Regions from separate parts of the Homo sapiens genome. Here regions 2, 3, 4, 5 and 6 are each linked to region 1. Evidence: promoter capture Hi-C in human tissues and cell types (Jung and others, 2019). All regions are on one chromosome and are shown on one strand. The core of a region is centred on a gene start or on the middle of the fragment in contact, and the rest is flanking DNA. Distances in the headings are between cores, read along the strand shown. Region 1 holds the start of DIRC1 (disrupted in renal carcinoma 1). Region 2 overlaps GULP1 (GULP PTB domain containing engulfment adaptor 1). Region 3 holds the start of LOC105373791 (a long non-coding RNA gene). Region 4 overlaps LOC105373791 (a long non-coding RNA gene). Region 5 has its middle 43 kb from the start of COL3A1. Region 6 has its middle 140 kb from the start of DIRC1.

Region 1 (4,862 bases), core at 1,176-3,675:
TCTGAAATGAATGTGTGTGTGTGTGTGTGTGTGTGTGTTTCCAAAGAGCTAACGTGGCATATCTTCATCCTCAGATTCACTTTTGCCCTTGGACTCTTTCTCACCCTTCTCCTCCTTAGGGAGACAGGGGAAACAAAAGTACTGTTTCAGCCAACTGACTTTATTAAAGCTTTCTCATCTACGAGGCATGAGAATATGTTTGTGAATCTGTTTCTCTTTTGTTTGGCAGTGAGAAGTGCAATTGCTCTTTAATTAGAACCTTCTGTGTACCATAAATATGGTTTAACCCAGGTGTTTAATCTACCTCCAATGCAAGTGCAAATTGGTGACATGAGTCAAATGACAATTTTATTTAATTATCAGACAAGTTAGGAATAGCTAAACGCCAGCCACCATCAATTCACTGAGTTAAGGATCTTTGCTAATAATTACAGCAAAAGAGAGGGGAGTAATAAAGGGAGTGTACTGGAAATCACAGTAGACAAGATCATGAGACTAAATGCTAGACTTGATGATTCTGACAATATTTATCTGTATGGGAATGGCCAAATCTTTTAAGATTATTGGAACTTGGTATTCTTATCTGTAAAAATTAGGACTATTATTTCTAAAATATTTCACCATATAACTTATAAGATTATACCCAGCTCTCAGATCCTGTAATTCTAATCAACACATAGAAAGACATGAAAAAACAGAAAGAAGTAGACGAATATTTATTAGGTCGGCTATTGTAAGAATTTATGGATTTAAGAAACCCATATTCAGTCTTCACTTTATCACTGATGTTTTGTTTTCATGTCATTTTAGTAAAAATGTTTGCTGATATTGTCAAGGGATTTCCTAGCTAAAATATAATTAAAAGATCTCTCAGTGTCATTTCTCTTCTAATTGCAGTTCCATCACATTAATCTCCTACAACTAACTGAAAATAGCAATGTCATTCACAAATACAAAGAAATATGTCTAATCAAACTTCATTGAAATAACACAATTACCTCCTTTCCCTAATGTTTGGCTGTAAGCAAAATCCAAGAGCTGTATCTTTTATTTTTCTTTGTGTTAGTTCCTGTTCATGTGTGGGAGAACATTGGTCAGTGACTCACATTACTGACACACAGCCAGCACAGCTGGATAGGCACAGAATGCATTTCATAATAAAAGGGACAAAGAAAGAAAGATAGAGAAAAAAGTTTATGTGTTTGGTTTATTTTAAAAATCTATACAGCTTAATGCTAAAAAGCAAGAACCAAATTTTTCTAAACAAACAGCTTCAAGGAAAAATAATTTTGGAGGGACTAATTAAAATTACTTTAAGAACTCTTAATATGTAAAATACTTCTTTAAGGCAGCTATTCCCTGTGGAAATCTTACCCTCTCCCATGAAAAAGAACCAGCAATTTATGACTGTCATGAGAGTAAAACTCTAGTGAGAATTTAGAAGTACACACAATAAAATAAAAATACTCCACAATAGTTTTGAACTCTTGAAGAAAATGACAGGAATAGTATTATGTGTAACCAAATATATATATATACACACACATATATATACGTATATATACATATATACGTATATATATACACATATATACGTATATATACATATATACGTATATATATACACATATATACGTATATATACACATATATACGTATATATACACATATATACGTATATATACACATATATACGTATATATACACATATATACGTATATATACATATATATACGTATATATACACACATATATATACACATATATATATATATACTCAGAAATATCTGCACTCCAGCTTTGAAAATGTGAGTTAGCTGACACATAACAATGTCAAAGAAGACACATTTTTACAGAAGAACTTTCCTTAAATAAAATAACATTTCCCAATCCATTAAATGTAAATGACATAGTCACTTATCATATATTTTGTCTATGCTGTATAGAAGTTAAATTAAGTTGTTCGCTGTATACTTAAAACTAAAGGTTTTAGGATATGAGGTACTTTACAGCATGTCTATTATCACTAGTAAGAAAAGACTCTATAAATGTAAAAGGAAAGATCACTTCTTCAGACTATGTTAATAGAGTAGACTGTCCTGGCCTAAAATCTTATGATTGAGAAATGAGTGCCATAGCCAACCCACCATTTTGACAGAGCTCACCTGAATTTTTCCTTCTGGTGATGAGAAGCAATGCCAGAATTTCTACTCCAGCCATCTTCACACTTGTGGAGAGAAATTCAATAGTGATACATTTGTAGTGAGGAGAAAGATGTGTTAGCTTAACAACTGATGCAGGGTCTATCTTTTAAGGAAGATATTGTGTTTGTGGAGGAAAACATCTTGGAAGGTATTTAGAAGTGGAAAGTAAGACTTTAAGGGCAAGAGAAACTCTGCCCATGTCAAGAGACACAACTAAACTGCTTTGTATTTGGAAATCAATAGGAATTTGGAGAGAGAAACTAAAAACATGAGTAATCAACAAAAGATGATTTAACCTACATGATCGGAATCTGAAGCCCAAGATTTGGAAGGAGAGAGGGAACTTTAGGAACATCAATATCTAACATAGAATATTACATCTTGAGCCTTTTGGCAGTGTAAATCTCTACATCCCCTATAACTCAGTAGTCCTTTACACATATAAGAGTTTCTATAAGTAGTTTGGCATAACTAAGAAAAAGTATAGTGATCCACATCTAAAACAATATAATGCAAAACATAATAATACATATTGGACATTTAGATTATCCCTAAACTGATTCACACTAAGCAGGACTTAAGAGCTGAAAGTGATCATAAATTCTGATGAAATTTGAAAATTCTTGAGATACAGGTTGAACTCAGTGGAAAATACATTGAATCAATCTTACTGATCTCAAAAGGCAGGGAAATGCTGTTGAAATTTAGTTTACATAATTATTTTCTCTTTTTCTGGCTGTCCTTAAAGCTAACACTTGGCATGATACTAAAAACATTGTTTTAAGAGAAAATCTATTGTGGACAAATACAAGCTTTAGGAATAAATTAAAATGTTTAGAGGAATTAACACATCTGTGTAAAATTTTACATGTGTGCCAAACTGGTCCCCAAGCTAAAACTAGTGACATATTAAAACCCAACATATTAGCTCACACATTTACAATGAAATACAACACTTTTCGTAATACTATAGTTTGTGACAGTTCAAGAAGTGATGAATTGGAAAACATGCTATGATAGGCATGGGCAATTTAGAGCTCAGTCTGGACAATCGGTGATGATTAATCTTAAGAGGATTTCTGAAGTTCAGGCAACAAATGATTAAAAATCAACTTCAACAATAGTCAATGATGGCTGAATGTAAGATATTTAAACATGCATTGGAAAATACAATGGAACTAATTGTAGTCATGGACATTGAGAGAAGACTTCTGGATTCAGACAAATTTTTGCTCACTCAAATCCCTGTAACATTGTTTACCTTATATTACATGTCATAAATTGACTACGTTATGAAATAGGAAGGGTAATATCTATTTTTAAATGTAATAATTATAAACAATGTATAAAATATGTGACACAAAGAAGACTGGCAGTTTATAGTGACTATTGTATTATTATTTTGATTTTAGTAGTTGAACAGGAAAAAGAGAGAACAGCACAGACTGAAGTATTTATATCTCAATAATTAAACTTACTTAATATTTTCTATTATACATTTACCTAAAAAGTACAGGGCTGATACTTCCATATTTATATGGAATAACAGTTCTTAAAATATATAAAGCAAAATATTATTGAAATAAAGAGATGATCGATAAACTTGTAAAATTATCATCAGAGATGTAAATACCACCTCTACAATAGGTAGACCAAAATTAGTAAAGATACAAAATAATTTAACAACACAATAAACTTGAACTAATTAAAATACAAGGTCTCTATCCCAAAGAACTACAAAATAAATATCCTTTTTAAGTAGAAAAAAAATTCACTAAAAATATATATTTCAAGCCATAAGACAAGTCTGAATAAATTTCAACAACAGAAATCATTCATAGTACAAACCCTGACTACAAAGGAAGAAAGTTAGAAATCTCCCAATTATTTGTAAACAATGCACTCCTAATCAACCCAAGAGTCAAAGAAGAAATCAGAATTTGCACAAAACAGCTGAAAGAATTCTATCACTTATCTATTGATGTGTAGTGATCCACCCCAAAATTTAGTTGTTTAAAATAAAAACCATATTCTTTGCTCATAATTCTATGGCTCCACAGTTGGAGTTGAGGAAAAGGGAGTGTTGTCTGAGCAATTCACCTGTTGGTCTCACATGTAGGAAGTTTATACAGAATGTGGATGACTGATTTCTTCTCCACATGGTCTTATTTACTAGTTAGCTAGTTCAGGTGTCTTTACTTAGCAGTTGTGCATGCCATTTAAAGTGGAATTATTTTAGTTTAATATGACCAATTATTTGGTGCTTGTATATGCAAATAAAATTCAATTTAATACCATTGTATCCTGAAAACTTGTCAAATTCACTTATTAGGTAGGTTTTTTTCTTGGTAGATATCTCAGGAAACAGGTCAATTATCAGTAAATAAAATTTGGCTCCATGATTTTCAATATTTACACATTTTATTTTTTTTGTCTTGCTTCATTACACTGTGTAGGACCTCTATTACAAAGTTAAATAGTAGTGGCATGTGCCAGGTTATTGATTTATTGCCTCTCAGCTCCAAATCCACACTTCTTTGTCCTATTCTGTGATACTGTAGCTGGACCATAAAAACCTTTCTCCTTTGGCAGCTGGCAGAATGGTTTACAACCCACTTCTGAAGTTTTAAATATTCAGAGAGATCCCTTGGCTGGGAG
Region 2 (4,862 bases), core at 1,533-4,032, 220 kb before region 1:
GAGAAAAACAAGTAGGAAAAAACAATACAATAAAAGAGATGAGAAGTTTGACATAAAGAACTCTTGCTTCCAACTTTCCCACTTCAACAGCTATTCAGTAATACCCACCCCCAAGTCCGCTTGTTTTTTCAATGTTGTGCCTGGGTAGGTGTTGAGTTATTACATTAGCCTACTACCTTGCTCATTTAATACATCTCTACTCCCAACTGTTGCCCTTTTGAAGTACCTCTTGTGAATGTCTTGGAGTAAGTGCTTATATGAATGTTGTTTTCTCGATTCAAAAACAGTTTGACATATTATTAAAATGCAAATCTTTGTTTGATTTTTACACAGGCTGAAGAGATCACTTTAACAATTGGCCAAGCATTTGACCTGGCATACAGGAAATTTCTAGAATCAGGAGGAAAAGATGTTGAAACAAGAAAACAGATCGCAGGGTTACAAAAAAGAGTGAGTAAACTAAGCTTGTTGTTTTACATTTGTGTGATGTAAGTACAGGGAAACTTGCATATCGTCAAACAAATTTAGAAGCCCTGCCATTAAATTTCACCCACACTGACTGATTGGAACTGCTTTCACCGTGTTCCCATAATTTTTCGTTCCTGATCCCCTGCACAGTTTTTTTTTTTTAACTATTTTATATTGAATTCCCACAAGAACTTAGTGTTCTCATGTGACTTTGCTTCACTTCCTGATGCTTCTCATGGGGATCAGAGCAGCAGAAGCAGCAGATGCTGGGTAAGTGGTTTTCCATGCAGATCAGATTCCTTGGTAATTAAATTATGCCTTTCTCCACTCTTCAAAATCATCATAAGCAAGTTTCACTGTCTTGTGGTTATATTCCAAGATTATGGGTATAGATTGCACAGTCCAACAAGAAAACACAATGTTGAGATATTAGGAACATAAAATTTGCACACACATAAAAATATATTATAAATTTAAGTCTTTCAATGATCTAGAATCCTCCAGCATTTCCCAAGCTTTATCAAACAATTTTCTCCCCACGCACAACAAAGTACATTAAAGTTTTACGTAATATAAATTCCTACTCATAACTGTAGCCAATATTTTCCAAGAAAAAAAAAACAGAAAGTTATTCAATAATGATTTTCTTTTTAGATCCAAGACTTAGAAACAGAAAATATGGAACTTAAAAATAAAGTACAAGATTTGGAAAACCAACTGAGAATAACTCAAGTATCAGCACCTCCAGTGAGTATATTGAATATCCTTAGAAACAAGATTTTATGGTGATAAAACATCTGTGTATCACTAGTTCTGCAATATTTCATATAATACTTGGGGATCAGTAATTTCAAAGTAAACATGGATAGAGATGAAGGCTGCTAAGCAGTTTAATTTAAAACTTAAAATTACCTAGTCAGTTCAAATCAGAGTTGTTTTCTATGTTGCTGTTTTCCTCTGGGTTTTCTAACATAATTCAACCCTCAGGTTAGTCTTAAGTTTTATTACATAATATAATTTTTCTCTTTGTGGCATATTCTTCTTTTGTTTCTATTAATTACTATTTGCTGGGTTAGATTTAATGACCTATGCCAGTCTCCCCTTGAAGTGCTCAACTTCATTGTAGGAATTCAACTGTGAGCAAGACTGAACCTGGTTTCTTATATTACATGGTAAGGGTTCCCGCTGGGAGTGAGGCAATTGTATTTCAAACATTAAAATGAGTGGTATTCTCTGCAGACAAAACTCAAGTCTTTGTAGTTAAAATATTTATGTCTGACTTGTCACAGTTTTGAAATCCTTTTCCCAATACCATGTATGATATCATTATTACATGATTTTGGCAAAGGGAATTTATTGGAGGGAGGTGGAATTTAAAACAATATTTTTTCTAGGCAAAATATATTCAGGAAAAGATATTTTTCTGTTTGAATCATCTGTACTACTGATATTCTTTATTAAAGTGTATTTATTATTCTTCATTTAAAAATATTTAATATCTATGCCAAGCACAGTGGCTTATATCTGTAATCCCAACATTTTGGGAGGCCAAGGCAGGCAGATCATTTGAGCCCAGGGGTTCAAGACCAGTCTGGCAACATGGTGAAACCTTGTCTCTACAAAAAATACAAAAAATTATCCAGGCATATTGGCACACACCTGTAGTCTCAGCCACTGAGGAGGCTGAGGTAAGAGGATGGCATGAGCCCAGAGGTCATGGCTGCAGTGATCCATGATAGCACCACTCCACTGCAGCCTGGGTGACAGAGAAAGACTCTGTTTCAAAAAAAATTAATATCTAACTTATAACATAAACATGAACTGAAAAAAGAAATTTGTTGCAAAATTTTTTATGGAAGCTTATTGTGCTTCAATACGTAGGATAAACTCAATGAAAATGTTCATTTCTTAATATCTAATACTAGAATCATTCACAAGCTCATCACTATGAAAAAGGATGTTTCTATAGAAGTTTCATTTAGGGTTTCAAACTTGGCACACTCTGGAAATGGGTCAAAAAATGATTTTTCCTGTAAACTCACATTTTTCCACCTCCCATTTGAAAGAGTGAGTATTTCCATTGCTTGGCAGATGGTTTGTGCCAGTAGGGCTCCTATGGCCTTGATGAGAGAGGTTGGGACTGAGGTACCAATGTATCTATGCTGGAGCATCCTCTTCAGGTTCTGGTTTTATTCTGATATTCCTTCTTATTTTTTCTTGTCACTGTCTGCTGCTCACCAGGATTATGATTTTTTTCTTGCCTCTCTCGCTGCTAGGGACAGAACATCAGTTCAAACTCATTATTCAACCTTCCATCCCAAGATGGAACACACATCCTCTTGGGTTTTGTTGAAATTCATATTGTAAGCCATGTTGCGAAATATGCTAGGAGAATAAGAATAAATGTACTTCATTTATGTGAAGGGAAGTAACTTTTTCAAGGAGTTTTGATAACGTAGTTGTTTCTGGAATTCATCACATATGAAGAGTAGCTTTGCTTTCATTTTTGTGTTGACAAAGGAGTAAAATAAGCTCCATCACCTTCTTGGATGCAAATCCAAACCTGGTCATTGTGTAACCTCTTTATCTGAGGAAGAACATTTGAGAGGAGCAAAGAGGTTTCAAACATATTAATAAAACTGCAGCCTACCTTTTTTATCTTCCCAAAGCAGACACTGCTCTGAGAAGAAGGTGGGTCAGGATTATTAATGTGCATTGGTGATCTCATAGGGTTACTGAGTCAGCTTCAGAAATGACAAAGGACAGGAGGAATGACAAGATGACCCTTGCTTCAGTGTCTTTGACCATTTGGCTGAAATAGCCATTTCAAGTGGAAAGCATGCAAGTTGGTATATAAATGAAACATAGCCTATTCATAAGTATAATTCATTTATTTAGCAATTCTCATTAGTAGAGCCAGTTATATATAAAGAGTAAAAATAATGAAATAGCTATGTTTTAAAATGAATTAGCACTCCTGAGGTTACATCATTTAACAATTATTTTAGGCATTGTGTTCATCTCAGCCTGGATTTATCTAAATAAAATGCTTCAAAAACTACAACTAAGAGGTTGAATTTAAAAACAAATCACTTTCTTTAAATCACGGTCTTACACTGAGTTCATATATATGTAGAAAATTTATTGTATCCTTGATCATTATGGAAATAACAAATTATAACTTTGCAATCTACTTATAGTCTTTTGTCATGTAATGTTGTTGTCTACACTTTTTCTTTAACTTTAAAAATTATTTGTCACATGGCTTTTTAGCTCTTAAAATCTTATCATATGATTTTTTAAATTGTTGATATGCTGGAAGATATACATCTTCATTAAGATAGAATCTGGAGGACATTATACTAAGTGAAATAAGCCATGCACAGAAAGACAAATATCACGTGATGTCACTCATATGTGGAATCCAAGAAAGTCAAACTCATAGAAGCAGAGAGTAGACTAGTGGTTGCTGGGGGCTGGGGCAGAGTTGTGGAGAAAGGGTCTAGAAGATGATCAAAGGATGCAACATTTTAATTAGGAGAAATAAGTTCAAGAGATCTCTTGTACAACATGGTGATTATAGTTAATAACAAGGTATTATATACTTGAAAATTGCCAAGAGTAGTTTTAATTGTTCTCACAACAAATATGTGAAAATAGAATTTATTTGATTTTTAGAAGAAAGTGAACTCAAGAGCATTTTAAAATTGCTAAAATTTAAATGTAAAATTAAATGCTAAAATGTAAAATGTAAATTAATGAGATATCTAACCAATTCAAATGGTTTAAAAAACATTGTTACAGCATTTGCTAATGTGTTTCCTATTAAAAAACATTTTTGCCTTTCATTTCAAATTTTAGTAATGTAGCTATGAAATAAACTCGTAGAACACTTAAGTACAGCTTATTTATCTCATATCTATTCAAATGAGCTCCCAAATTCCTGATATTAAAATAAAACAAAAATAGTTACCTGCAATTATTTTTGAAGATTTATTAATGATTCAGATTATTGAATTTGAAAAACAGACAATGCAAATTGCAAATAATAAAATGTGAATTTAAAATATTTAATAGCTTACCATGTGTCTGCAATAAAGCAAATTTCTGTTAAGTTAGAAATGTTTTACATCTGTTCTTTCTTATGAAATTTGAACATCAGTTTTACAGGACACACAGCAGGAACACAAAGTACCTCACAGAGTGCCCCCATGGCTAGCAAAGTAAATGTTTAATGAGTTTATAACCCTGGAAATAGGACTCTGTGGGTTTTATGTGTTTGTTTTGAGCTCAGAGGACTGAGGATTAGAGTGCTCCAAAATGAGTAAGTTCTCATCAGTTTATTCAAAGGATTAGAGGCAGTGATCTACACATTCATTAAAGAAGCATTGAAG
Region 3 (4,862 bases), core at 2,363-4,862, 200 kb after region 1:
AGTAAAACAAAACATACATGCACCATGTTGACTGTCATGTGCAGGTGAGAAGAGAAAAATATTTTAAGAATATGATAATTTTTAAAATTGCACTAAAATAATCTTTATATTGAGGCCTCCGTGTTTTAAAAAGTACTATAATATGTTTCTAATAAAATTTAGAAACAATAAGCTAAATAACAACGTTAATACTTATAACATTGCATTTGACCCAATTTTAACAAACTCATTTACAATTTTAATAAGTCAATATTGTGCTCATTTATTTAATAATTAGCAGAACAAATGGAAAGTACTGTATTTCTAATGATGTGAGGACACCCTTAATGAGACATAAACATAGGAGGATGAATACACAGGAGGGAAAAGTATTTATGTTAATTTCTAGGCAGATCAAGAACATATAGAAGATACTTAAAATAGGAAATGTTTGAGCCTAGCTTTAACTATTATCTTCATTTGTCTTTAATATGCCTTTAGTATTCAATGGCTGTTTTTCATAATCCACGTGCTGTATTAAGTGTGAAAAGATATGCCTGATCCAGAGGCAATGAGCTAAAAGAATCATCTGTACAATCTAACAATGCTTTTGAGGATGGATCTGGAGGGCTTAAAATACACATTATTAATGGGAAAATCTTGGGCTGAAACTAATCTGTAGGAATATTTCATATAAAGTTGATTTGGAGAAAATTTTTAAGTGGTTCATTTTGAGAAAAGGAACCAATGTAATTACAGTGTTCCATGTAATTTTACTGCACAATCTTCCAAACCCAAATTTTCGGACCTTTTCTGCAGACTGGTGAACTTAGTACTTAAATATGAAACGCCAGTTCTGTCTAGAGAACAAAATGAGTTTAATGCATAGACTCACCTGTTATTACTCTTCACACCAATGTGTAAATGACTGTTTGCTCTTCTATTAAATATATTTTCCGTAACACCATTCAAATAGGCCTACTTCATTTCCACTGAGATAAGCATTTTGGTATTCAGCTTTTATATTCACTAAGAATTAAGAAATGCTGTTTTAAAAGCTTAGGAAATGTATATAGAAAATATATCCCATGTTCTCATATATGTGTTTCAGACATAGGGGAGGAATTAGAATAAATTTTCTAAATAAACAAATTATTTGCCTACTTAAAATTGCAATTAAAAAATGAAGCTTTCCTTCGTTAGCTGTAAACTACATTGAGAAATTGTAACATAAAAAAGAATGGATTTTTAAAACTTCTTGAGTAGATCAAGTGTCTTGTACAATATCATTAAATTTGTATCAGAACACATAAATGGAAATGAGGTGGGGAAGCAATTGCAGTACTTTCTAGAGTCTAGGTTTTGAAATTCTTTTTGGTGAACATTTACTAAATCAGCTAAACATTTCAACTCATTTAAACACAAACCTAAATTATTATTACCCTAGACAGAGAGATGATATAGCAACGGGACCTCGAAAAGGTGATCTTTTGTGGCTGCATGTAGTGCCCAGATGGAAAAATCTTAGGACCACTAAAAGGCCTCTTGACCACTAGGCGGCAAAAACTAATTTTGAACTACTTGCCTACTCGGTAGCAGGCCTCTTTCAATAGACATTTTAAATATCTTGGCTTTGAGAAAATAAAAATTTCACCATCTCACAAAAATATAAATTACTGAACAGTACATCATTTGTTGTTTGCAAAAATTTTTGCAGATGCTTAGAAACTTATTATTTATTTACTCAATTACTGGCAAACTATCATACTAATTGTCAAGAACTAAAGTTGTATTTAACCACAATACACAGCTAATGCCTTAAGAATTGAGACCAGGTTTTGTTTTGGCAATTCCTAAGCTGATTCATAGTTAATAGCTGCTGAAATTTCAGTACCTTGTATATAATTATGAAGCAAGTCTAAAATTTTGGTTGAAGCAATTTTTTTTACCATTTTAAGCCACAAATACAGATGGTTATGATTCATATTTTCCCTATTATTTTTACTTATTCCTTGCCAATGTTTATTTTAAAAACATCTTTTTCTTTTCTTTTTGGTGATTTGGAAATGTCTTTACATCCATATGGGATATACAATATATTATGTCATATCATGTTGAGCTACTAATGCCAAATAGAGCTAACAGTGACATTCAATACACATAATAAGTTCTGTTAAAACTTTCCCAGGAAAATCTGGTAGAGTTTTATGCTGCCAAGATTAGCTCAGTTTTCCCCTGAATTTCTCAACTAGGTTGATAAAATCCAGAAAGTCTTCAGAGTTAGTGACAAAATCATCTCTTTAGTTTAATGCTCCCATCTGCTGTTAAGGCAAAGAATAGCAATTGGGTAGAAGAGCTTATTTTCAATGTTCCTTTAATAAATAAATGTTTAAATGCTTGTGTGATATACATTGATGTTAATTCTTACTATAAATGAAATTAAAATATCTGCTGGTCTTAAGGAAAATTGACTATGGTGTGCCAATTTTATGTTAACAAGCAGATATGATATTTTAATTAATTTCTTGCTACTTAGCAAATTACATAGGGCAAGTATAATTTTCTAATGAAAGGAAGAAATTATTTGTTTCAAACCTTTTCAACTTTGGCTATTGTTAATAGTCCTAACAGAGTAACAAAAATCACCTTTCAGCAAAACCTAAGGAAACTTCACGTCATCTAACTTGTTTTTCAGCTGTTGAAGGAGGATGTTCCCATCTTGGTCAGTCCTATGCGGATAGAGATGTCTGGAAGCCAGAACCATGCCAAATATGTGTCTGTGACTCAGGATCCGTTCTCTGCGATGACATAATATGTGACGATCAAGAATTAGACTGCCCCAACCCAGAAATTCCATTTGGAGAATGTTGTGCAGTTTGCCCACAGCCTCCAACTGCTGTGAGTTTAAAGATAAACTGTACATCTTCAATATTCATATTTAGACACATGAATAGCTCCTATATCATAGGAGCCTAAAAGGGAATGAAAGTCATGTTCATCAAATAGCCATGTTTGTATTACGAGTAAAAAGTGACCGTTTCAATTTAAAGATAAGGATTGGTTAGAATCTGGGTTACTAAATAATATGCAAATTCTGTGTCTTGTTTAACTTGTTTCTTTTCCATTTATTAGCCTACTCGCCCTCCTAATGGTCAAGGACCTCAAGGCCCCAAGGGAGATCCAGTAAGTAAACATTCTTCAGTAGAATAAAATTAATACTAATGATAATTCTAGTAAGAGTTTGCTTTTTCTAGATTTGAGCTTTCATCATACATTCTCTTCATTACCACATATTTGAATAATGGCACCAAACAACAGACTGAGAATCCATAATTGTACGTGTAAAGATTTCAATTTCCCAAACTTCATATTATGTCTTCACCCCCATGATCAGTTTAAAGAAAATGTGTAGGTCAATATACAAAGGAATACATTATACTTAAATTATTCACAAGATTTTGATTAAAAAGTATGTGTTATAAAGAAAATATATTACTTATATTGTTTCCTAATATTATAAAGTAGAGAAACAACAATCTGATAATGATTGTGAATCACCAGGATTTTTCACTATTTAATTTATTTTTATCTCTTTTTTAGGGCCCTCCTGGTATTCCTGGGAGAAATGGTGACCCTGGTATTCCAGGACAACCAGGGTCCCCTGGTTCTCCTGGCCCCCCTGGAATCTGTGAATCATGCCCTACTGGTCCTCAGGTATAACAATTACGGTACTTAAAAAATTCCCTCATAAAACTATCTAGTTCATCTTCTTTCTTTACTCGATATTACGTCTCACTATTATGAGTTCTTTGTATCTGTTCTCTGATTCAGTGTATTTAATAAATCCTTATTTAGTGCTTCTATGTATTAGGCACTATTCTAAGTACTTTATAAGTATTCATTTTTCCTCATAATGCTAATGTCATTGCTACTATATCCTTGGAAAATTTGCTAATTTCTCAGCAGATATATAGCATACACATTATGTTTAAGAAGTGAACTATGAACTTAACAAAAAAAATTAACCTAAATAATTTAGTTAGTACTGTATCCATACTTTATTCTCCTACTAATACCAATGTCAAAGCCTCTAAAAGTTTAGACAAAAAGAAGTTGAAGAACTGTTAGTATTCCTATTGAACAGGATTATTTCTGCCTATGAAACTGCTCTTGCTAATACTTCAGAGCACACCTTGCTTCTCCTGAAGCATGGCAGCCAAATAAATCTGCAGGTAAAACAACCAAACAAATAAATATGACAAAATTTCTGTTGCATGGAATTAGGTGAAACGAGAAAATATATTACACAAATTTTTGTGAGGTTAAAAAGTGCATTTCAAAAAGCAATTCAACAAGAACCAAAGTATATTGTCTAAGTTATTCTTATTCTAGTAACCAAACAGAACCTAACTCTAGACCTGGAACTTAGAATTTAAAAAAAGCTTCAAAGAAATCTAATAAGCATATGAGCCTTTCTACTATTTTTTGGTTTATTTTCTATGGAGATGTTTATTTTTGAGTGAATCTTTTAGTCATATTAACCAGAATCCAGGGGATATGAATTTTACTTGTATCATTAAGTGTTTGAAAAATAATTTGACTTCATTTTTTTGCTCAAAATGAGAAGGTGTATTATATGATCTCGAGACTCTTTTGGCCTCAAACAGCCTATGATCCTATGTTTGTAATGATGTAGCTACTGCTTAGAAATAATAGCTTAAGTAAGCGCATAATAGGAAAAATTGGGGGGAACTAACATTGAACACAGTGGAAAGATTTGTGCATCCCACAAGAAAATGCTTCTGTAGGATATCTAACGTCTAAATCTACAGAAAGACACGATAAACAAGATAATTAGTGAATACATACCACATCTTTTGGCA
Region 4 (4,862 bases), core at 1,367-3,866, 180 kb after region 1:
TTCTCTTTTCTATTATTTACTTTTATTTTTGTAATCACAACAGAAAGAATGTATGTTTGACTGGATCCTCACATATTTTTCAAAAACACTTTTGGAACTACTCTATGGAATTTCCTTTAGGATCATTTTATGAGACATTCAAAAAATCAGAATCATTACTATGTATTCATATTTTTTGATGCAATGTCAAACCACAACTTGCAACAAATTGTTTTTGGCATTTAAAAACAATTAAGCCTACCCTCAATGATTCCACCTATAGGAACACGACAATAATATGTTTTGAACAAATAAGTAATTGAGAAAAAATTGAACAAAATGTAGTTACTCAAAATTATTCCATCAAAGAGGAAACCACTTATTTGAATATATAGTTTTGACATATTTAAAAGCATAGGGGTATTAAATTCACACAATATATTGGGATTAAAAGAATGGATTCCAGAACCAGACTTCCTGGATTAGCATCTTGGCTCTGGCATTTACCAAGTGTGTAATCTTAGACAAATCAGTTTACTCATTTAAAAAAAACATATGAAAGTAGTACACATTCATAAGAATGTGATGAGGGTACTTTCTGTGTGTGTATGTGAGTGTGTTTGTGTGTGAGTGTATAGTACCTAGTATGCACGAGCCCTATTCTAAGTTTATATATGTGTACATGTGTGTGTATAGCTATGATTATTCAGAAATGCTTTATTGTTTTAATTATAAAAAAACTACAATTATTTTTTCATAACAACTTTTTTATACTAAGAAAATCAACATATGTAGCCCATTTCATAATTCACCATTAGATACACATTTGCTGAGCAACTAACATGCCAGGAACTGCATCAGACATTAGATATTTAATATTTCTCAGATTTTATTTTGAGATGATTGAAGCTCTCTGCATGACACTTTTTAGGGCTAACTACTTAAATCGCACAGTCAAAAACCATTTCTGAGACTACTTTAATTGTGAAAGACTCTCTTCCTCTTCTTCACTCAACCCCATTTTTTGCCTTTATCTATGCAAACTAACATTTGCAAGCCAAGCTTTTTCTTATAAGCTTTTGGGAAAAAAAATTATCTCTTGGATAGGGATCCAAAATAAACAGTTCAAATAAGATAGGCTTTGGGAAAATGTTAATAAACTTGACTCTGGCAAATTATTTGAGTTTCCTTGTGTTTCTTTCACTTGGCAGGGATTTTAATTTGGAAGTTAAAAAAAAATGAAGAAAAATGTCCTAAGATTTCACACATGGATACTTTTATTATAAAATGATAATTTTCTTATAAAACCACAACTCAAGGTTGAAAATTGGGGGGGGGGGTTAATTTAAACTTAAATTATATAAAATAGATTGGACAAATAATGATATTGCCAGAAAACTTTGAATCATCCATATTTGACTAGAATCTCAGCATCTCATCAGTCAACAGGTCCTTACCAAATGTCTGCCCTTTTGGACTGCTTGCTAGGTGCTAAAGAAACAGTGACCACCAAAACAGACGCAACTCTTTCCCCGAGGAGCTTCCAGTCTTGCAGAAAACATAAAGTAATAATTATGAGCAAATTATTATAACTATCAGAACATAAATGAAGCACTTTTGGAATGCAGCCATTCAATATGATCCATATTTAGGTATTCTTCTTTAATATTGTAAAATATCTTTACCCAAAATTTTGGTGCCCATTGTCCCTAAATTCTAAACTTTTGAGAAGAAGAAATGAGAAGCATTATCCTTATTTCTAGTGAAGCAGAAGAAAAGTTAACTACAGCAATGTAGTGGTGGGAATAACAGTGAAGAAAGCTGACACACACCGTGATGGGTACATATAGGCACTGGAGATGTTGACTGGCTATCACTGCTGCTGTTGTTTCCTCTGGTTGCCTTGTCATACTTTCTTCTTAATAACAGCTAGGAAGGATTTTGCTAACTAGTGGGCTGCAATCATTAAGGACTTGGTGAAATTCCAAAATCCACAACCCCTAGGAATTTTCCTGGATCCCCTACTTGGAGAAACATTGTAAGCAACTTACAGCACACTAAATCAGAAAGGTTGGCCTGTAAAACCATTTATGTAATTCCTCTGCTTTTGTTTTGGGGAATCTTCCAAAAGACGTGTCTAGAGAATCAGATATAATTTGAGCAGAGTATGCTAACGTGGCTTCAACAATGATTTTACTTTTCTCGTAATTTTGTACTCAACAATCATTTTTTCCAGTGATGTGTCATGCTGTCCCAGTTGACTGTCTGGCCATATTTTGCCCTGGTGTTTGCTATAGCAAAAAGTGCAGCTATAAAATTATCTTCTTCAGCTTGATGTTAATTTCGATGAAATCTTCCAAGATGTATCTTTTTTCACCTCTAAATCTATGTGATAACAAAAGATCAAACAGTTCTCGATCATATTTTGAATGGGAAATATTGGTATCATAAAATAATTCAAGAGCCTTATTTTAGCTACTTATTTCTTTCTAGTTAGTCATCATAACAAATAACCAGCGAATGTACTTTTTTTCTCCCCTTCCTCTCCATAAAAAGTATGTCACTTGCACAACTTCAAGTTAGGAAATGGGAAGGGTCAGGGAAATCTCACACAATCCTACCCAGTTTGATCACACATTACCTCCAACAGCTAGCCTTCAGCTGTTGATCTAACACCGCCAGCCACACCCTAACTAAAATTTTAGAAGTGACTGTTTTAGCTGGGCACCAGGATACAATCCATGGCGACACACCCCTGATGCTGAATCTAGGTCAATGTGGTTGTCCACTTTGCAGCTAACCTTGCCCTGAACAACCAAAAAATAGATTACAATTTCTACACATAAAGGGACCACTCTAGAATACTATTACCTGCCTTGTATGTCTCCTTAGCATGCTCAACTAAACAGATTGAAGTTCCCACAATTCTCATGGGAATTGAAGCTAATAAATCAAGCAATAAAATATAAAGCTTTAGACATTTGTCTTACATTACATGTGGGGTGTCTGTATTTGTGGGAAGGTAAGGAATTTTCAGTATTTTGATTTGTATTTTTTCTTTTTTTATTTGACATTTTGCACAGTTTTTTCCTTTTAAAAATTTCACTGTAAGGAAATTGAGTCAAGAAAAATGAAAACAATTTAAACAAAAAGTGTGATAATTCCTCTTTGAAGCATTTTAATTTCATGATGCTTATTTATATGTCATTTTTTTTCTTTTTACCCTAAAATAAAAATAAATTAAAATTATGATGCATTTCTAGTTCAATTATTTCAATTCATTTTGAAATTAACTTTTGGCTTTTCTGTCATTCTCTTTCATGATCCTTGGTAAATTACCTGTATTTCTTTCTATTTTATAAATTTTTCTAATGGTCTCTGACTTGTAATACTTGTGGTGAACACAGAGTTTGACTGCTTTCAATTTATTTCCTAACTAGTTCTATTGTTTATTTTTTCTATTTTATAAATAAATTCATAACATCTGGAAGTTTTTTAAATCGATTATAAATCCAAAGACTTCCTATGCTGGAAAGAGTGACCTTCTTTTTTAAGAGTGATGGAAATACTGGAAATAATTAACTTATTGAAAATTACCATGAGTTCTAAAGGATACAAAGGAAATAGATTACTTCAAATGTGTTTTTCTGGATTAAGTGTTTCATATTTTAAATCATTCGCCATTTGATTCTTATTAATTTCCTACTATGCACAAGGCCATGTAATAGCTACGATGGAGTATAAAATGAAAGATAAACCTTAGTTTTTCCCTGGAGTAGCTTTCAGCCTAGTAAACGACATAAAAAGATGTAAATTAAAATAAACTAAGAGGCATAGGAAAGGTAAGGTAAATTAGAAGAAGAGCAAAATGATTTTAACAGGGAGGATCAGAAAGATTTTGTAGATTAGTTGATCTTTGGGTAGAATCTTCAAAATAGGATTTGAACATACAGAATGAGGAACAATCATTTTAGACAGAAAGACAGTATATGCAAAGGTATAGAAACCCAGAAATGTAGAGTAGGTATTGGAAAAAAAAAAAAAAAAGAGCCATTTGATTTACTAAGAAGATAGTTCTTGGATCAAGATGAATTGCATATCAAGAATTATCTAAAATAGTGTTTTGTATCCTGCTGGGTTTGGGTTGAGAAATAGAGAGAGTGGCTGGACATGAAATAATAGAAATCAAATTATATTAATCTATTTAGTATTATTATCCAAAGGTTAGCACTTTGAATAATCAATATGGCATAATTTTTATGTGAAGACTTTCTACTTGGACTAGTTTATTTTCATGAGTCATATGTTTCACCTTAATCACTTTATGAAATATATCTGATATCTATAAAATAAAGAGGTGAAGAGCAGAAACTGATCCATGGTCTGGGTCCTATATTGATTTTTTTAAGAAATGCTTATATTATTAAACACGTAATATTTTAAATACTATTTAATGCCATCCTAATTCAGTCAGTCTTCGTTACATTGATCAGTATTCATTATGTACAAGGGACTGTGTTTACTACTGTTCATGATTTTTAAAAGTGGGTGAGGGTAGGAAACAAAAAAGGTTACAAAGAGGAGTAAAATAAGTACATAAAGAAATACAAAACAATGCTTCTAAAACGGACATTGCCACAAGAAAGCCAAGACTCCAGAGGGCAACACTTGAATCCTTGGGAACGAAAGGAGACTATTTGCTGTGGCCTCCTTCCTCCAAGAACATATACCAAGAACATACCTAAATGTAGAGTTCTTTAAACATGATTTAATGTACAGACAAAAATGAAGGCTTTAGACAATTTAGTAGACAATTTAATAGTCATGGCAAGTTAAACACAGAAAGGTCTGTTTATGTCTGTTTATTTTAGGCAAGGGAGCCT
Region 5 (4,862 bases), core at 1,290-3,789, 140 kb after region 1:
TCTTTTTCAAAAAATTCTCATTTTGTTCACACATTGTATTTCAAATTGTATTTACATTTCTATATTTTTTTTATTTCCCTGAGCTGCTTTGTAAGGATTATTTAAAATTCTTTGTCAGTCATTTCATAGATCTTCATTTCTTCTAGGTACATTATTGGACCTTTATGGTTTCTTTTGTGGTGCCACATTTTCCTGATTTTTTAATAATTCTTGTGTCCTTATGTTGATGCCTGTATATTTGATGAGACAAATCCTTCTTTCAGCCTTTGTGGACACTCTTTGGTGGTAATAGTTCTTTACTATTTAGTCTAGGCTGAAAATTCTAGATGAGTTGGCTGGTAGCACCACAAGGCAGAAAGATGTTGGTGTCAGATTTTCTGGTTGAGCTGGGTCACTTCCTGTTCTCTGAGGTCTAATGATACGGTTGTCTATGCTCCATGCTCTGGTGAGACCTCTGGCTAAATTCTGCTGTCAGGCAGAGTTGCTAGCTAGGCTCTGTGGTATTCTGTGACCAAGAAGGGCTGCAGGTTGTCCTCCCTGGTTAGGAGACACTGTTATTTGGAATCTATAGTTGGGCAGAGTCATGTGCTGGGATCTGAGGCTAGGTAAGGTATCTCAGGTTGCTACTTAGCCACACAAAGTGGGCAGGGTGAGAGGCAATGCTCTGTATATATGATGAACTTGGGCTTGCTTTTCTGCCTCGGATAGGCTTAAATAGAGCACAAAGGCTTGGTGGAGTTGCTGCTCAACAGCTGGGGTTGGATGTGTACAGATGTGCCCTCTTCACTTTATCACTGACTTGAAATTGTCTCCAGATGTGAGAAAGACTTAGCTAAACCACAAAGGCTCTGTGAGGAAGCTGGCTAGGGACTCAAACCTGGTAAACCTGTGAACTATGATTCCTGCAATGTGATATCATTGGCTGGTCCTCTAATATGGCACCTTTGTTGACCAGAATGCAGAGCGATGAATTCTAAAATTATTCTCCAAATGTCCTATTCTAATATCTGAGAATGTGAATAAAATAGATAGTATTCCCATGATTAGATTATGCTATGGCACAGTTGACTCTAAAACAGAGATTATTTAAGTGGTCCTGACCTAATTGTAAGAGTCCTCAAAAGCCAAGAGTTTCTTATGGCTGATTATAGAAGAGAACAACAAGAATTTGAAATTCAGGAAGGATTTTACATGCCATTGTTGATTTGAAGATGGCAGACTTTACTTGCCAAAGAACAAGAGTGACCTTTAGGAGCTGAGAGCAGTTCTCAATTGATAGTGAACAAGAGAATGAGAACCTCAACCCTACAACTGCAGGAAATAAGCATAAGCTTAGAAGTAATATTTTCACTGAGGCCAGGCACAGTGGCTCACACCTATAATCCCTACTCTTTGGGAGGCTGAGACAAGAGGATTCTTGAAGCCATGAGTTCGAGACCAGCCTGACCAACATGGTGAAACCCCATCTCTACTGAAAACGCAAAACTTATCCAGGCAGGGTGGCACATGCTTGTAATCCCAGCTACTCAGGAGGCTGAGGCATGAGAATCACTTGAACCCAGGAAGTGGAGGTTGCGGTAAGCTGAGATAGTGCCAATGTACTCCAGCCTGGGCGACAAAGTGATATCCTGTCTCAAAAAAAAAAAAAAAAAGAAAAGAAAAAAAGTAGTATTTCCACTGAATCTCCAGATGAGAACTAAACCATTCAACATGTAGATTTTAGCCTTGTGATACTCTGAGCAGAAAACCCAGCACACTATACCCACTATACCAAACTTCTAAATGATCAAATTTTAAACTAATTAGTGGATGTTGTTTCAAGCCACTAAGTTTGCAATAATTTGTTGCACGAAAATCAAAAAGCTAATGCTAACCAAGCTGGCCTCATTTTTAAATGTAAGTTTAATAGTTGTAAATGCATACTACACAGAAAACTATCATTTAAAAGATAAATAAAGTATATTTTTCGTGGAAGAGCTTTGATATGGCATTTCAAACTTTCTTTGGGCAAACATAAATCTAATTTATCCCTCCAAGTATAAATGATTCCATTTCTAAGCCATTCCAGAAAACCCTTTCCCAATGTATTTCTGTGTTAAATAATTCTCACAACTATGAAATTTCCTTCTAAATCTTCATTTCCTCAGGTTAGTGGCCGCTAGTGTAATATATGGATACTATCTGCTGCTCCTACCTAGGCATCTTACACCTTATATAAAAAATGTATACATACTGTTGTGAAAAAGTAAAAATACATAAATAATCTCCTTAAAGCTGTTAGACCTGGGAGGCAGAAGTTGCAGTGAGCCGAGATATCGTGCCACTGCACTCCAGTCTGGAAACAGTCTTGTCTCAAAAAAAAAAAAAAAAAAAAAAAAAAGAAACTGTTAGAGATGGAAGGGAAGGGGAAAGAACTGCAAATGGGACCTAGAATGGCAGCAAGAACCCAGGGAATTTTAGCAACCATTTTGTTTCTCTTTCATAAACTGCAGGATTTTTCTCTTCATGCATTTCTTAACAACAATTTTCTCTGACTTCTAAAAATTTTAGCTTCATTTTGTCATAATATGATTCACATGTATGGCAGTTTTTTGAGTTCTGATCTTTTTCTCAATTGGCAAATCATTTCCATACTTCTGACTCAGTGTTGTAAGAGAGAGAACCTGGCTGGATAAGCTCACTTTATTCCACCAGTCCACATTTAAGGCCAGTAGCCAGTCTAAGGAAGGCTACCACTGGATCCCTGAGGCAAAAGAAGGGTGAGATCACAAGCTCTAAAATTGATTACCTGTGCAAACAATAGAGATAGCTGCTTCCAAGAACAGACTTTGCCCAGTGGTCATCAGCTCTAATAAAGACTTCATATTGGCCGGGCGCGGTGGTTCACGCCTGTAATCCCAGCACTTTGGGAGGCTGAGTCTCGCAGATCACGAGGTCAGGAGATAGAGACCATCCTGGCTAACACGGTGAAACCCCGTCTCTACTAAAAATACAAAAAAATTAACCAGACGTGGTGGCGGGTGCCTGTAGTCCCAGCTACACCGGAGGCTGAGGCAGGAGAATGGCATGAACCCGGGAGGCGGAGCTTGCAGTGAGCTTAGATCATGCCACTGCGCTCCAGCCTGGGCGACAGAGTGAGACTCCGTCTCAAATAAATAAATAAATAAATAAATAAAACACTCATATTTATTTTCTCCATCTCTCTGATTTACAAACTAAAATTTGCCTTATCTCTTCCTACTGAAATAACAGAAAAATCACACTTACTAATAGGTGGGAGACGTAGGTACAAAAACAAATCTCTGCAATTGAACAATTACAATGTAACTAAGCTTTCCACAGAAGATTTTACTCAAAAATAATTTTCTGGAATGTTACTATAGTTGTGTTATAACTATACGTCTATAAAGGTAAGTGGAAAATTAAACTGAGCCAAAGTTAATTTTGAAACTATCAGATAATCAGAACTGAGCTGGGAATAAAGTTATTAAATCATGTCCCTCAATCCTTCAAAAAATATCAGCCAATAAATAAGAACTTTGGTTTGACATTGCTTATATTAAAGTGAACATTCTGGTCCTAATTAGCTAACAGTAAACAATGCTCCAATCAAACAGTTCTTTAATTTCAAGAATGTAATAAATGTTATACAAGTTCCAAGGAGATGATATCACCTTTTTCTTATATAACTAAAAATAACCTGTAAACTTAATCTTGCCTTTGGATAATTAATGATTCCCAGACACATACAGAACAGGAGAGAAAGGCACAGCTGAAGGGGATAATAGTATGAGTAAGAGTAAAGCAAAGGTGAAAACGGATAATGCCAGTTGAGATACTGCGAAGACATGGAACAAACCATTAATAAAGTGTTTTAAAAGTTGGTTTGTAGTAGATTAAGCCCTTGATATACAGGATGTATGGATAGAAATGTGTAAAATACACTGCTCATAACAATCTAATGAGTATAAGATAATACATTTGATGGCCGGGCATGGTGGCTCACACCTATAATCCTAGCACTTTGGGAGGCCAAGGCGGGCGGATCACCAGAGGTCTCGAGTTCAAGACCAGCCTGACCAACATGGAGAAACCCTGTCTCTACTAAAAATACAAAATTAGCTGGGCATGGTGGCTCATGCCTGTAATCCCAGCTACTCGGGAGGCTGAGGCAGGAGAATTGCTCGAACCCAGACGGTGAAGGTTGTGGTGAGCCGAGATCGCGTCATTGCACTCCAGCCTGGAAACAAGAGCAAAACTCCATCTCAAAAAAAAAGAAAGATAATACATTTGATAACAATAACTGAGGTTTGTCCGGCCTTTAGTTAACTTTATGTCAGGACCTGTTCATATATATATATATATATTATATATATAAAATATATATATATACACACAAACACATATATATACATATATATACATATATACATGTATATATATATACATGTATATATGTATATATATGTGTGTATATATATATGAACTTAGTTTTCACAATAATCTTTTGATATAGATGTTATTGCTATTCTCCATTTTACAAATGAGGAATTTGAGGCAAAGTGATTAAATGACTTGCCCAAGCTCAAATAGCTAAAAGAGAAAGTTAAAACCAAAAATATCTTATATGCTAATATCTACTTTTTGTCACTAAACCTACTTTTTCTACCCTGTGTACTTTTCTCTTTTGTGTGTTTTAAGAAAATTAGCTACAGTCTGTAAAGAAATCAATTATATACATGTGAGTATGTGGAGCTATAGATGAGTATGTTTCTATGTTAACTATTTCAAGAGCTAATGGCAACATGAAATCCAAGTTTGGCTTGGATTAGAACAAGCACAAACTTGTTGAACCTAAAATG
Region 6 (4,862 bases), core at 782-3,281, 140 kb before region 1:
GTGAAAAGGGCAGAAAAAGAGCTAGAGTCAGAGTAACAAGGCCCTACTTACTTTACTTGACTTCACTTATTTGCTGGGTAGTACAAGAGTTACATAATTTTGATTTTGATTCTTTGTTTCTTCACCTGCAAAATGAGATAATTATTAAGAATAAAAGAAGAGCTAATTTTGTATGAATAATAAATATACCAATACACAGTATTATTTCCGCCATCATTTTGTTTGGAAACCCAGCATTACATGGTATATTTTTAATTTTTTACGATTGTATATAAGTGGAGGGGATCAATAATTATAAAAATGGTTTTGACTACTTCATTTAAAAGTCACGTATAAAAAGTAGAAAATATATATATTATATTTCCTGCTGTGCAATCTTAGGGAATTGTGGTATAATCTGTAAGGTTTTGATTTTGCAGCTGTGTTCATTAAGATAACTTTGGACTAAGTCTCGGAAAAAAATTATTGTTGCCAGGAAATCCATCACTAAAGTTTTTAAGTTTCACTAAATTTTCCAGTATTGGATTTCTCAAACAGTCAGATCAAATCTTTTCATTATAGCACATACTTAAAAAGAAAAAAAAAAAAAAACCCTTGACAAAGTATGAAGCTTATTACTTCACACTTGAGGCGTCTCATCCATCTTCAAACTGCTTGCCATGATCCATCAGCTATAATCACCAATTAGATTAATCTTGTTTAAGCTTTGGTTCATTATGTTTTTGTTCACCATTTCTTGCCCTGAAACACTGGATGACCCTGCACCTTCTACTAAATTAAGGTCAAATTCCTTAATCTGGTGATCACAGTCTTCTAAACTATGAATAACCACTCTGTAGCTTTATTATGTATTTCCATGGAATTGGGAGTCTCTATCCCAGCTGTCCTAAGCTTCTTACACTTTCCCTAAACACACATTAGGCTTTTCTTCTTTTAATGACTCTACAGCTTGTGATTAACACACTTCTCTACCATCTTAGTCTATCAGACGTATTTATTTCAAGGCTCATCTTACATGTCTAGAGTAAACATAAATTTAGATTTTCAAGAGAGTCTATTCTATATATGTTTTAATGGGAGTCATAATTAATAAGATTCCTTTAACCCTCAAGAGTATTTCATCAAGTGGTCGTGAATTCAGTCATCCTGATGATCTCAAATACTTTAGTAGCAAGAAAATCTATTGTGGTATAAAGCCTTACCCATAATGGAAAGACAACAATTGTTTGAAAACAAGTAAAGCAGGGGAGGATAGTGTAGAGGAAGTAATAATACAAGAGGGGTGCCAACAAATATGAGATTAACCTTGGTAAAGAAAGACTATACCGGAAATGACTCTTTGTTTATGGCAGAAAAGAAAAATAAGTTAGCAAATTAAAAAATAGTATATGCAAAGCTGCTTATTAAAAGCTTGTATAGTTCAAAATGATTGCTTACATTGTTATTTTTTTAATATATATTTTAATTTTTAGGGTACATGTGCACAACGTGCAGGTTTGTTACATATACATACATGTGCCATGTTGGTGTGCTGCACCCATTAACTCGTCATTTAACATTAGGTATATCTGCTAATGCTATCCCTCCCCCCTCCCCCCACCCCACAACAGGCCCCGGTGTGTGATGTTCCCCTTCCTGTGTCCATGTGTTCTCATTGTTCAGTTCCCACCTATGAGTGAGAACATGCGGGGTTTGATTTTTTGTCCTTGCGATAGTTTGCTGAGAATGATGGTTTCCAGCTTCATCCATGTCTCTACAAAGGACACGAACTCATCATTTCTTATGGCTGCATAGTATTACATGGTGTGTATGTGCCACATTTTCTTAATCCAGTCTATCATTGTTGGACATCTGGGTTGGTTCCAAGTCTTTGCTATTGTGAATAGTGAATAGTGCCGCAATAAACATACGTGTGCATGTGTCTTACAGCAGCATGATTTATAATCCTTTGGGTATATACCCAGTAATGAGATGGCTGGGTCAAATGGTATTTCTAGTTCTAGATCCCTGAGGAATTGCCACACTGACTTCCACAATGGTTGAACTAGTTTACAGTCCCACCAACAGTGTAAAAGTGTTCCTATTTCTCCACATTCTCTCCAGCACCTGTTGTTTCCTGACTTTTTAATGATCGCCATTCTAACTGGTGTGAGATGGTATCTCATTGTGGTTTTGATTTGCATTTCTCTGATGGCCAGGGATGATGAGCCTTTACAGTAACCAAAACAGCATGGTACTGGTACCAAAACAGATATATAGACCAATGGAACAGAACAGAGCCCTCAGAAATAATGCCACATATCTACAACTATCTGATCTTTGACAAACCTGACAAAAACAGGAAATGGGGAAAGGATTCCCTATTTAATAAATGGTACTGGGAAAACTGGCTAGCCATATGTGGAAAGCTGAAACTGGATCCCTTCCTTACACCTTATACTAAAATTAATTCAAGATGGATTAAAGATTTAAATGTTAGACCTAAAACCATAAAAACCCTAGAAGAAAACCTAGGCAATACCATTCAGGACATAGGCATGGGCAAGGACTTCATGTCTAAAACACCAAAAGCAATGGCAACAAAAGCCACAATTGACAAATGGGATCTAATTAAACTAAAGAGCTTCTGCACAGCAAAAGAAACTACCATCAGATTGAACAGGCAACCTACAGAATGGGAGAAAATTTTTGCAGTCTACTCATCTGACAAAGGGCTAATATCCAGAATCTACAATGAACTCCAACAAATTTACAAGAAAAAAACAACCCCATCAACAAGTGGGTGAAGGACATGAACAGACACTTCTCAAAAGAAGACATTTATGGAGCCAAAAGATACATTTTTATTTAATGATACCATGCTTTTAATGTTCACTTAATGTAGTTATAAATGACAAATTGACAATGTTATTTTTTTAAAAATGTGAAATACGAAAAGAAAATGATGGTAGAAATGGATAATACAGAGTAGTAATTTGGAGAATAGACTCTGAAAGCAGACTGTCTAGGTCAGAGTCCTGCCTTTTCTTCTTAATAGCTATATCATTTTGCCAAGTTTTCTAACCTCAGTTTCTTCATTGTCTTGGTTTCCTCATTGTGAAATGGAGGTGACATATCGGTGCCTACCTAATAGAATAATTATGAGATCTCACTTAGTATAATGCTTGGGAATCAGTGAGCCATGTATTAGTAATTGTCAATAAAATAATTATATTTAAGTTGAAGAACAGATTTGAATGGAAAAGGTACTAAACACATTCTATTACTTCTTGCTAATCTGACTGATAAAAAGATATTGTGCCAGCTATGCTTTTTCCATATGATGAGATTCATATACATAAAGCACTGTTTATGTAGGTAGCTTGTTTAGGTATTTAGGTAGCTATTTAAGTACCTTAATTTAAGTTGGTCATAGCACTTATGAGGAAAAAAAATAGCAAGGAGAAATTTGTGATTACTGCCATTGGTTGAACAACTAATTTTTTTAGACAAAACATATCTTCAATCCGCCATCATTCTTAAATTGTAACTATACATAAAGGTTATGTTCTGTATGTGCTTCTTTCCACATTTTATTTATTTATTTTTTGAGACGGAGTCTCTCTCTTTCGCCCAGGCTGGAGTGCAGTGGCGCATCTCGGCTCACTGCAAGCTCTGCCTCCCGGGTTCACGCCATTCTCCTGCCTCAGCCTCCCAAGTAGGTGGGACTACAGTCGCCCGCCACTACGCCTGGGTAATTTTTTGTATTTTTTTTTTTTTAGTAGAGATGGGGTTTCACCATGTTAGCCAGGATGGTCTCGATCTCCTAACCTCATGATCCACCCACCTCGGCTTCCCAAAGTGCTGGGATTACAGGCATGAGCCGCCGTGCCCTGCCTCTACATTATATTTAAGTCATTGGAAGAATATTAAATGTGGAGTGCATATTTGATTTGCTTTGACAAAAAAGTAGGCTTTGTGCACCTCCGTTTTATATATTTATGTAGATTATCAAGGCAAATAAATTTAAGATTCTTGATCTATTGAATTTAAGATGGGACTGGTGTTTGGAAGCATACATTTACATGTCAAGTGCTTCCTCAAAATGTTTGGAAATATTTTAAAAATTGTTTGCTGTGGATTCAAATGCAAAATTATGGCAGAAAAGTGTCATTCCACAGATGAACAGATCATAGTTTAATGTCAACAAAGAGTTTAAAACAATGAGACTTTTTAAGGAATCATAATTCAGATATTAAAAACTAACACCAGGATTAACAGCACGGAATTTCAAAGTTATGCTATAAAAAGAGATCAGTGTCTATCTTGTGGTATATTTATCATACAGGTTCAAATTCAGTTCTGTACCGCCTACTTAAATGATGCCTATGTTTCAGTTATCTCATCCATAACAGTACCCTTTCACAGTAGATTTTTTTGGTGTGTAGATTAAAATGTTAATGTATTAAGGAAGTTAATGTATGTAATCTTTCTTTCACATCTGGAAAATTTCCTGTTCACCCACAGTATATCATCTTAAAATGTTTCTAAAAGAATTTTTTTGTGTATTTTAAATAATTTAATTTTTCTGGCTTTGCTACATGGGCAATCCTGTGTCTCAGCATTTTCTTAAGTGTAATATACTTTGTAAATCTCTTAAACCTCTTCAGGAGGGGAAGTTATCATATTTAGTACAACACCGTCCCCGGTTTCTGGTTTCCTCATATCACTAATATAAGACTATGTCTCTTTTCCAAATACAATATGTTGTGCTACCTTTAAAAAATAGAAACCAAAGAAAATGGGATAGGATCCTTTATTTTCCTCTGCAATGAGTGAGGAATCTTCCCATCATCACTAAAAACCTGGAAATAGGCTGATAG

The links. Contacts are between HindIII fragments. The study calls those that stand out against the background at their distance.
Region 2: a fragment that was not itself captured here is called in contact with the fragment with the promoter of DIRC1 in region 1 in 2 of the 25 tissues and cell types used here (aorta and mesenchymal stem cells).
Region 3: a fragment that was not itself captured here is called in contact with the fragment with the promoter of DIRC1 in region 1 in 2 of the 25 tissues and cell types used here (bladder and heart left ventricle).
Region 4: a contact is called between a fragment that was not itself captured here and the fragment with the promoter of DIRC1 in region 1, in 2 of the 25 tissues and cell types used here (heart left ventricle and mesenchymal stem cells).
Region 5: a contact is called between a fragment that was not itself captured here and the fragment with the promoter of DIRC1 in region 1, in 2 of the 25 tissues and cell types used here (H1 embryonic stem cells and hippocampus).
Region 6: a fragment that was not itself captured here is called in contact with the fragment with the promoter of DIRC1 in region 1 in 2 of the 25 tissues and cell types used here (IMR-90 fibroblasts and mesenchymal stem cells).

What each region holds. Positions count from the first base shown.
Region 1 is chr2:188,787,698-188,792,559 of GRCh38, forward strand. It overlaps DIRC1 (disrupted in renal carcinoma 1), which reads right to left and starts at 2,426. Exons shown (of 2, transcript NR_161166.1): 1 at 2,166-2,426. The HindIII fragment of the contact is 6,834 bases long and covers 1-4,862 here.
Region 2 is chr2:188,568,906-188,573,767 of GRCh38, forward strand. It overlaps GULP1 (GULP PTB domain containing engulfment adaptor 1), which reads left to right. Exons shown (of 12, transcript NM_016315.4): 8 at 334-450; 9 at 1,123-1,215. Among named protein-coding and RNA genes, the nearest start is that of DIRC1, 220 kb to the right of the region's middle. The HindIII fragment of the contact is 4,118 bases long and covers 724-4,841 here.
Region 3 is chr2:188,982,086-188,986,947 of GRCh38, forward strand. COL3A1 (collagen type III alpha 1 chain) reads left to right here. Exons shown (of 51, transcript NM_000090.4): 2 at 2,675-2,877; 3 at 3,112-3,162; 4 at 3,580-3,693. It overlaps LOC105373791 (a long non-coding RNA gene), which reads right to left and starts at 2,734. Exons shown (of 3, transcript XR_007087614.1): 1 at 2,626-2,734. The HindIII fragment of the contact is 5,020 bases long and covers 1,103-4,862 here.
Region 4 is chr2:188,964,303-188,969,164 of GRCh38, forward strand. LOC105373791 (a long non-coding RNA gene) reads right to left here. Exons shown (of 3, transcript XR_007087614.1): 3 at 2,156-2,364. Among named protein-coding and RNA genes, the nearest start is that of COL3A1, 7.6 kb to the right of the region's middle. The HindIII fragment of the contact is 5,923 bases long and covers 1-4,862 here.
Region 5 is chr2:188,928,930-188,933,791 of GRCh38, forward strand. No RefSeq gene overlaps it. Among named protein-coding and RNA genes, the nearest start is that of COL3A1, 43 kb to the right of the region's middle. The HindIII fragment of the contact is 3,820 bases long and covers 630-4,449 here.
Region 6 is chr2:188,647,153-188,652,014 of GRCh38, forward strand. No RefSeq gene overlaps it. Among named protein-coding and RNA genes, the nearest start is that of DIRC1, 140 kb to the right of the region's middle. The HindIII fragment of the contact is 4,565 bases long and covers 1-4,314 here.